Linked DNA regions of Homo sapiens: region 2 is linked to region 1. The links are contacts of gene promoters, found by promoter capture Hi-C in human tissues and cell types (Jung and others, 2019). All regions are on one chromosome and are shown on one strand. Each heading gives the region's core, a stretch centred on a gene start or on the middle of the fragment in contact. The rest is flanking DNA. Distances are from core to core; before and after follow the strand shown. Region 1 holds the start of TMEM161B (transmembrane protein 161B). Region 2 overlaps TMEM161B-DT (TMEM161B divergent transcript).

Region 1 (4,957 bases), core at 1,997-4,496:
CCACCTCAGCCTCCCATAGTGCTGCAATAACAGGAGTGAGCCACTGTGCCTGGCCTCAAATGCTGTTTTAACTTAGACAATAAACATTTTCCATTAGAAAGACTAGTCTAATGGCTCTTTAGAACAGCTAGATAAAATTCCACTAAGCATATATAACAATTGATCAATCTTATCGTCTGTAAGACTGCAACAAACTTTTTACCATTATAGGTATTACTACAAATAACGTCTTTGTCATAAAGCATTTTAAGGGCAATTTAAATGAAGTAACTGTTTACAACATTCACTTAAATGATATTTGTTATGGGGAAGGCGAGAAAACAAAACAAGGTCCCAGCTGTGGAGGAATTTATAGTCTAATTAGGAAAACAGTATATGTTAGGGGAAAAAAAACTACAATGAAAGCATACGACACTTAACCTTGTTCAGAAACAGTAATTTCTTAGCAGAAAAACTAAGCAGAACATTTTGCAAAAAATATGGACTGAACTGCGAAAAAGTGATATATCTTAATGGTTTAAAGAGTTCCAGGTCAGTGTGGGTATCGTACTTTTTGTTGGTCTTGAAAGCATTTGAGAACAGTTCTCATTCAGGACATTTCAACTCATCACAAAGCCCGAATGGTAAGCAACCAAGACTTTTCTCAAAGATTATGCTCCTAATTCCCTTGCTGAAACTACTGAATTTCTTTTCATCTCCATCTATCTTTTCTTCCCTTTCATAACTGTCCCCTTTCTTTGTATCTTTGTCAAAGACACTCACCTATTTTAAATAATGGAAACAGAGAAATTACTGTACTTCAAGGCAGGCAACCAATAGATAATAATATTATTCTACCAAAAAAAAAAGACTGGGTGGCACTACCTTAAAACATATATCCATTTTAATCATTAAATAGCATTACTTATATAACAGATTTTTCACATGTAATTGAGAGAACTGTGTGAAACAGAACATTAAAAGATATTAATCAAGAGTTATTCATCAACTTGCCATACAACAAATAAGGAACACTGCACTCTGTGATCTATTAAAAATGATAAGCAGATAATCAAAACTGCGATTTCTTTTCATGGTTTTACTCTAGCAGGAATGGATTCCATTCTGATAGTAATTCCAGTTTTACTGTCACATAGAAGGAGATACTTTGCGAACCTCAATGACTGCCAGGTTTAGGACAGATATTAAGAACCACAGTGTCAGAAATGAAAGAGTACAACTTCACAGAATGTGTTGTCTCTGACAGGTTGATAGCCACTTACCTTCTCCATCTTTTCTTCCTCAAGGATAGCAGCTGCTTCCCACAGATACACCAACAGGCAATTCCAGCCCCTCTCTACCACACTTACCATTTGCAGGTGCCTGTGGCTTGTCTATTTACAACCTTGTCCCTACACAGCAGAAGCGGAACCCTTCAGGAAGTTCTGGATTCATCCTCAGCAGGATCTGTTTCACAAACTATTCTCCAGTCCCACCTTCCCTCCAGGTATTCTGTCAGTACTTACGATTCCCAGATCTTCTTTTAATTGTCACGCTGTTCGTCCCCTCACAAAATCAAGTTTAAACTAAAAAAAAAAAACAAAAAAAAAAACCCTCATACACTCAGTCTGTGTCCCCTTTCCTGACATAAAATAACTGGCCCTGTGCATGCTTCTTTTGGATGGCTGAGAACCCCGATTCCTTTGGGCCATTTACAGCTTGGATACCATACGCTCCAGGTACTTTGATAAGCAGGGTGAAATTTAATATCTATAACAACGCCTGCCTACTCAACCTTCTTAACTTCTCCCAAAACTTCCTAGTTTCCCTTCCCAATTCCAACTTCATAACAAAACATCACACTATGGCACAAAGTGAATTCATGGATGAAATTACTAACAGCTACAACTTAAGTAAGGACCCCAAGTCGTGAGACAAATTTCTGGGTTGAAAGTGCTCTGTATATCCATTTCAAGCCTGCCTCCAGTACGATGTCTCATTATAATCAAATAAAAAGGCAGAAAAAGTTGAATGGAATAGAGTTTGGAAAAAACACAAAATTAAAAGTTGTATGAGAGTTTCACTTATTTGCATCTGATATAAATATCTATACATCTATAGAAAAAAAAAACCCTCATACACTCAGTCTGTGTCCCTTTTCCTGACATAAAGCAACTGGCCCTGTGCAAGCTTCTTTGGGATGGCTGAGAACCCCGATATATCGATATATTTATAGATAGACGTCTACATATCTATCCAAATATCTATATCTATCCATATATCTACCTATCTATCTATCTATATATATATCTATATCTATCGATCGATATCTATCTATATCTATCTATCTAGACTTCCCTGGTGAGGGAGTGAACCGCTGCCTGACGGGGGCCAAGACTGGCAGAGCAGAGACGCGGTTTGTACATGAGGGGAGGTGGTGGCCAGAGCAAAAGTGAACCGCAGGCTAGGCAAAGACCACAGCACACAGCCATACAGGTGTCCAGGACCGTCAGATCCCAGAGCATCTATCTATATAGATAGGTATCTATATGGAAAACGTCCATATTGGAACGTATTAAAGAGGCAGAATTTTCTTCCTGGGTTCTCTGCTCTTGGTAGATGTTCTTCCGGCTTCAATTGCCACCTGTGAATAGTGAAGAAACTTCTCACTATGAGATTCCATTGCCCGGAAGGAGGGTAGAGCTACGGTACCCACTAAGGCAGGGAACAGAAGCAACAGACGGACAGGTCTGTGGAAATGAGGATATGCTAATAAGGGACCGAGTCAGGAAAACTAGAGGGTAACAAGAGGGCGTCAGTTAAGCTGAGACAAAATGACGGCCAAAGGTGGTCTTTACTCTCTCTAAATCACCTGGGTCTGGAGTCGACTCCCATCGCGCACCCTCACTCCCACCCCTGGCCCCCTCCCGCCCCCCACCCGCCCCCCTCCCTCTCCCCTCCCGCTCCCCACACCAACGTGTGCCTCCGTCACCTCTCAGACAGTGGATGCGTTCCTGTTGAAACCACCCAATCTACCTCAGGGTCCTCGCAAGCGCAGCCACCACGATCCGCCCGCCCACGTACCTGTGCTGCGCCTGCGCCTCCTCCGCTCTCTCAAGGTCAGCACCGCCCCCAGCCCACAACCTGGCACCCACGGAAGTTGCTTTAGAGGACGTCCTGCGTATCTTCACCTCTGCGTGGCGTGGGGTCGACGGCGCTCTGGAGAAGGGAGGAACTTCCTGTCCCGCGCGCGCACAACTTCCGGCAGAGCCGGAAGACCCTCTCTTTCGCTGTTTGAGAGTCTCTCGGCTCAAGGACCGGGAGGTAAGAGGTTTGGGACTGCCCCGGCAACTCCAGGGTGTCTGGTCCACGACCTATCCTAGGCGCCATGGTGAGTTCTTCTGTGAGGGCAGGAGTGACAACGGTGGGGCGAAAAGGGCGGGGAGGTCAGTACTGTGAAAAGAGCCATCAGGTGCTCTGCTCAGAATGGAGTTGAGACGTTGGGATGAGCTGCTGGGTAGGACCCACCACCTATCTCAGGGTGTCTGAGCCCCTGAGGAAGCAGCATTACGCCTACCTGTCTGGGAGACTAGCGGGCCGGAGGCAGGGGCGTATCTGTCAGGGAGTATGGACTGGGTAGCCTGCCTGTTCATGGCCCATTTACTGTGTATGGCCTGTGGCGCCAGGTGATCCCAGAGTTGACCTTGCCGGGTCAGTCACCTCTTCTGCGCCCCCTTCTCCATCCGCGGAACAGTGGCCAAGAACTTCAGATCTTAGAAATGCTTTTAGCCTCTCCAGGTGGACACAACGGGTCTCCTTGTATAAGATCAACACCTGTCATTTAAAGAAACGGTAGTCCCCTTATTCTTTACACTTAGCCATTTCATAATTGAAAAGGGTGTCAAATAAAAAACCCGAGTTTAGTAAGGACAGACTTTATTCGAAAGGAATATTGCAGGGGTGTGGAGGAAGGTTGAAGGAACTGTTGCAGTAGGGAGAATGACCGTAAGATTTGCATGCACCTTAAAGGTTAGGCAGAAAGGGTTTGTCTTTTGTTGGTAGGGGTAAATAAGATGTCAGGAATTGGGATGAAAATATGGGTATGATCCGGCAGTAACCAGATAATGTTTTACCCTGAGCCCATGTATTCTGAGGAGGAGCTGTTAGGAGAGGTTTGTATATGTTGTTTCAGACTGAGGGAAGGACAAAATTCAGGTACCCGAGAGAAGAGAATCTTAAAGTTTGGTTAATAAGTATTTTGTTCCGATTGATCTGTGGGACAGGTACTTCAGCAAGTCATTTACGAAGCAAAGGATGGGAATTAGAAGGGTCTAGTTATGGCCTTGTTATAGGTAAACAAGGGGTAGGGGGGTATGGATCAACCCTTAGTCTTATCTAAGTTCTACAGGAAAGATGATTCTTTGCAGTAAGCCAATTTCTCAGAACACAAACGGGGGCAAGGGGTTTCTTAACCTTTGCTGTTTTTCAAGATCACGGGGCTCTGGTGAAGTTCATTATTGTCAGTTTCTTCACCGTATACAAGATTTCAAACCCTCACTTGCAGAGGCTTCTGTCCTGGAATTTAGCTTCAGTTTGTCTTATATTTTCAGGGCCAAATATTGCCAACATTCAGTTAATGTGTGTGGTGATTGGCTTTTGAATGACTTTTAGAAACTTAGCTGAATGTAGAACAAAGACCTTCAAAATAATGTAGTTCCTGGTGCACTTTACCAGATAACCTATCTCTTTAAAGTTTTTTTTTTTAAGCCTCAGTGAATAATATGGTTTGTATTAAGAAAGTTGTTTTTCTTTTGTATCAGTGAAATTAGACAAGGATAGGGAAAACAGAACTGGGAGAAACCAAAGCCTAGTAATCACTCTTCCATCCCCATTTTTACAGAAGAAAGAATCTGGGGTCTAGAAATTGACAGTGATTTTTCTAAAGTAACAGTAGTTTGGCAGTCTGGACTAAAACTCA
Region 2 (4,960 bases), core at 988-3,487, 150 kb before region 1:
TAACTTAGTTGGCTTTTCTTCCATCAACTAGGGTATATTCTTTCCTCTCCTTAAGACTGTTTCCTTTTCTGTAAAATGTGACCATTGTAATACCCTTCATAAATGACCAGGATAGGCAGACCTGAAATAACAGTCCTTCCTGATCTCAGTCAGATAGGGTAAAAGCTGAGATAGAGAATGCTACTGGGAATTACATTGCAAAAGAAACATCTGGTTGGACGCAGATGTAATCCTAACACTTCGGGAGGCCAAGGCGGATGGATGGCTTGAGCCTAGGAGTTTGAGACCAGCCTGGGCAATGTGGTGAAACCCCATCTCTACAAAAATTAGCCAGGTGTGTTGTGTATGTCTGTAGTCCCAGCCACTTGGGAGGCTGAAGTGGGAGGATCACCTGAGCCCTGGAAGGTTGAGGCTGCAGTGAGCTGAGATGGAGACACTGCACTCCAACCTGGGTGGTAGAGTGAGATCCTGTCCCAAAATAATAATAATGATGATGATGATGATAATAATAATAATAATAATAATAATAATAATAATAAATGAAAAGAAAAAGAAACATCCAAATGGGAGGCTGAGTATCAGGGTGTATTCCAATTATGACACAACTATGTGTGACTTTGTGTTGATAAATAAGTAAATAGCTCTTTGTGTCAGATTCCTCCCTGATGAAACAAGGGAGATTTGCAATACACATAAAGCAGTTGACCCTGGGCAAAGTCCTAAAAATAATTTGTGGGTTACATAAATCAAATTAACTCACACTGACATGGATTCTTAAAGAAGCATTGTGGAATCCACACACAAACAGTGTTGCCTCTAGTCTACCCCACCATCCTCTTTTCAGAGATTACAGGAGAGACATTTCTAAAGGTTGGACACTTAAAACAAACTCTCAAATCACCTGGGCTGGGCTACATGACATGATGCTACTAGATGAATGGCAGTCTCATGAGTGAATCAAGGAACTGTAAAGATGAATTTCAGGCCTTTGTGAAAATGGCTTACAAGTGATCCCCAATTTCAAATGATTGTCATTTCTGTTTCTGCTCAGACATTCTGCATCCGAAACAGATCTGCTCATGAATCCTTGCAAGAAAATCTAACAGAGTACAGCAGAGTGTTCCCTTTCCTGGTGAGCTAATGCCCAAGAATATCCATTCTAGAGTCCATGGTGTGCATGGAATGATATTTCTTGGAATTTCCCAGGGACTGAAACTTCTCCAATGACTATTCAGCTGGGCTCTCAGAATTAGGAATAAACATGTCAGAGCCAGAGGGTGGGGTCTGAAAATGGAAATCCTCAAGATGAGACAATATTAGTTAGTTGGAAAGGGTGATAACTTTTCTCTGTCCCTAGTTCACAACCTGGGAGTGATTTAGACATTAGGATACGCAGTGTAATTTCCCATTTCAACCCTTGGTTTTATACTTCACTAATTGCTGTTAGTTATTTCTTTAGATAACCCAATAACACAGAGGTCTATTGGTCTCATTATTTGAATAAAGAAAACTGAGGCAGAGAAAGGATAAAAAATTAGTTCCCATCTGGCTGGGATTTTAAAATGTGTTAAATGTCTTACTCTATTTTACCTCTTTCCATATACATTGATTTTAACATCCAATCAATGCATGAACCAGCTTGACTTTGCTGCCCACCTTTTCATTCCCTCCACTCCAACAAGAGACAGGCTTCAATAAATAGATAATAAGTAGACAAGGTGATAAGAGAAAAGTTTTCAATCTAATTTAATTTAATTTAATTTTTGAGGCAGGATCTCGCTTCATTGCCCAGGCTGGAGTGCAGCGGAACAATTATGGCTCATGGCAGCCTCAATCTCTTGGGCTTAAGTGATCCTCCTGCCTCAGCTTCTGGAGTATCTGGGACTACAGGCGTCTGCCACCATGCTCAGCTAAATTTTTTTAATGTTTTGGCCAGACGCGGTGGCTCATGCCTGTAATCCCAGCACTTTGGGAGGCCAAGGTGGGCAGATCACTTGAGGTCAGGAGTTTGAGACCAACTTGACCAACATGGTGAGACCCTGTCTCTAATAAAAATACAAAAATTAGCTGGGTGTGGTGGTGCATGCCTGTAATCCCAGCTACTCAGGAGGCTGAGCCAGGAGAATAGCTTGAACCCAGGAGGCGGAGGTGGCAGTGAGCCAAGATTGTACCACTGCCCTCCAGCCTGGGTGACACAGCAAGGTTCCATCTCAAAAAAAAAAAAAAAAAAGTAAAATGTTTTATGGAGACAGGGTCTCATTATGATGCCCAGGCTGGTCTTGAACTTCTGGCCTCAAGCGATCCTCCCACCTCAGCCTTCCAAAGTGCTGGGATTACAGGTGTGAACCACCACACCCAGCCAAATATGCAAGTTTTTAATTTTTTAAGTCAATTAAAGATTGACTTTAAAAAGTCCATTTTAATTCAGAAGTGACCATTCTGTCATTCTGAAATTTTGTTCTTTGTCCTTCGGAATGTTTGTTTACTTGGCTGGAGCATCAGTGTGGTTGGAGTCCCTGCACAGTAGGAGGAAGTTGCTCCTGCATCCTTCTCAAACCTCACAGAAACACAAGGATTTCACAAAAATCTGTCGATTTCTTTCCTCAACTGCATTTAATTATGATATTTTTAAGACACAGAATTTCCTCTTAATTTAAAGCTTTCTTTTTCTAGGAGCATTTCAGTTTTTCATTTCTGTAAAAGCCTGTACTTTTTTTAAAAAAAAGATTCAAAGTTTGTCTTGCTATGTTTTCAAGAATTCGAGACTTGTAAACTTAAAACAAAACCCACTTTTACCTTTGCAAACCAGCCTCAAAAGAGAAAATAACCCTACTTTAGCTTTGAATTTAAAGTTAAATTTTATATTGAAGGAATTCTTTTCCATTCGCCTTCTCACTAAGTCATGTCTCACAATTCTGGCTTCATTTTTCTAACAGTTCCTCTTCAATAACCTTGCCAAGTCAATCTTGTCATAATGTGGGGATGAAGAAATCAAGTTTTATTGTTTTTCAACTTCAAACTTAATGTATATTGTTCACAAAGTGATGGAAAAAAGGCCATTTTGAAAAAATGATTCAAGCTGTCAAATAAAGTGGTAACATCCATTTGGTAGGTGGCCTACGGATAGCAGTCCTGATTTTATGATTTTCTGACCTCTCTGGGATTTGGGTTTCACATCTGTCCAGTGAGGGAGTTGGTTGCCAGCTCCCCAAGATATAGTCATTACCACAGCAGCCTCGTGCTTTTTACCATGTCACTGACTACAGCCATTATGTAATATTTCCACTGCTATATTCACTGCACTAATTTTCACTTAATGTTTGTCTTTAAACTAACTCTATTTTTATTTTTAACTTTAAGCATATTTTAAAAGGAAGCTTTGTGCATCTGCCATTTAAAAAAGTGTCATCCATATAGTTGGTAACCCAAAAAATTATATTTTTAATGAAAACCATACAGTATTATTAAATTCTGGCTCTACATAGTTATCTGCTAAAGACGCTGAGCCTGAGGCTTGTCTTCTGTTTCTCAAAAAGGAAGATAAAAGTGTTAGAGACTTCTTTGTTAGCACCAGACTGAGACTTTCTTCTTGATATAATTAGAAGTCTCAAAAAACCTGAAAGAGGCTAATTTTCTTATTGCGTTATTCACTATCCATACGCTTCCTAAAACTATCCTGTACACATTAGAGATCCATATTCCTCATCCCAGAAAAAAACTGGGCTGAATGTTGTTCTTAACAGTTTATTATATTGCAGATCTGTAATTTCAGTTTACAGACACACAAAAGACACAGAGGAGAGGTACATTCCTCTTCTGGTGCTTCAAAAAGCTGAAACACAAGCATCTTGTAAAAAGAGCTGACTCCTCTCTATACTCCATGACTCTGGGTAACTTGTTCGGACACGAAAAGGTAATAAGGAAGTGTGAATAAGAGCAGGAATGAGAATCCAACTGGTCAACTTGATTTGGTTGTTGTAAAATACCTTTATCTAACAATCAGATTGAAAAATGTCATTAAATAAATCAAAACTGTTTTTGTCAGAGCTGAAAGGCAAATGCTGGGATCAACTTGACAAAGTCGTTGTATTTTAATAGAGAATTGGTGCAGTTTTGGTATACTGCAAAATTACTCGACCATCTTTAACTTGTTATAACTACCAGTAGCCACTCATATAGTAAAAGTAAGTGTTTTAAAAGCAGAAATGAATAACTATGTCTGCTATACTTGTTCATAGTTTTGTTTGTATGTGGTTTTTTGTCGTAAGCTTGTATAGTTACACACAAAGTAAAACTTCAGTTCAAAAACTTTACTTTCCCCTTTGTTTCCCCTTTGCTGCTAGAGTTACACAAATGACCAAAGTTTATAATCTTTTCATTATCCAACATGAAGTAAAAATAATAATTAAAGCAGACTCATATTGAAAATAACAATAGAAAATTAGTGGGATAATTCACTGCTTTTTTTTTTTTGGTTTTTAGTTCTACTGCCAACATAAAACAGCATAATGGCAACTGAAATATCAATATTCTTAATACTCCATTTTACTTGGCAGTAACTGCAAGGAAACCTATCCATCTTGAGTCTTAAAGACAATTTCTAAAATTAAAGCTAGTGCTAGCCATTCCTGACACTCACTTCTGAGTAGATGGGTGGTTCACCTTCACCAGAAGCAGTCTCAAAAAATCCCCATGGCATCTGCCACTGTGAGAGAATTTCAAGTTCACGTAAGTTTCAGTTGCTCCTTTATGCCTTCATCTACTTAATTCCTACTTTACCTTGTCTAGAAAAAAAATAAATGAACACAGTCTGGGTCCACAGACTGCTAGGCAAGTTCCTCACAGGATCTGCAAAATCAGACTCTGGGTGGGATCTTGAAATTCTGTGACTTGGTGTTGTGGAGAGCAGTGGCCTGGGAATCAGGAGCCCTGGGCTCCAGGCCCAGCTCTACCACTAACT

Evidence for each region. Contacts are between HindIII fragments. The study calls those that stand out against the background at their distance.
Region 2: a contact is called between a fragment that was not itself captured here and the fragment with the promoter of TMEM161B in region 1, in 2 of the 25 tissues and cell types used here (dorsolateral prefrontal cortex and hippocampus).

Annotation. Positions count from the first base shown.
Region 1 is chr5:88,267,134-88,272,090 of GRCh38, reverse strand. It overlaps TMEM161B (transmembrane protein 161B), which reads left to right and starts at 3,246. Exons shown (of 12, transcript NM_153354.5): 1 at 3,246-3,370. The coding sequence starts at 3,368. It overlaps TMEM161B-DT (TMEM161B divergent transcript), which reads right to left and starts at 3,209. Exons shown (of 3, transcript NR_039995.1): 1 at 3,064-3,209; 2 at 1,506-1,565. RefSeq lists enhancers at 3,080-3,269, 2,960-3,459. The HindIII fragment of the contact is 7,701 bases long and covers 1-4,957 here.
Region 2 is chr5:88,419,067-88,424,026 of GRCh38, reverse strand. The region is part of intron 2 of TMEM161B-DT (TMEM161B divergent transcript); the gene reads right to left. All of the region lies in intron 5 of LINC02060 (long intergenic non-protein coding RNA 2060), which reads left to right. Among named protein-coding and RNA genes, the nearest start is that of LINC02060, 18 kb to the left of the region's middle. The HindIII fragment of the contact is 5,693 bases long and covers 1-4,960 here.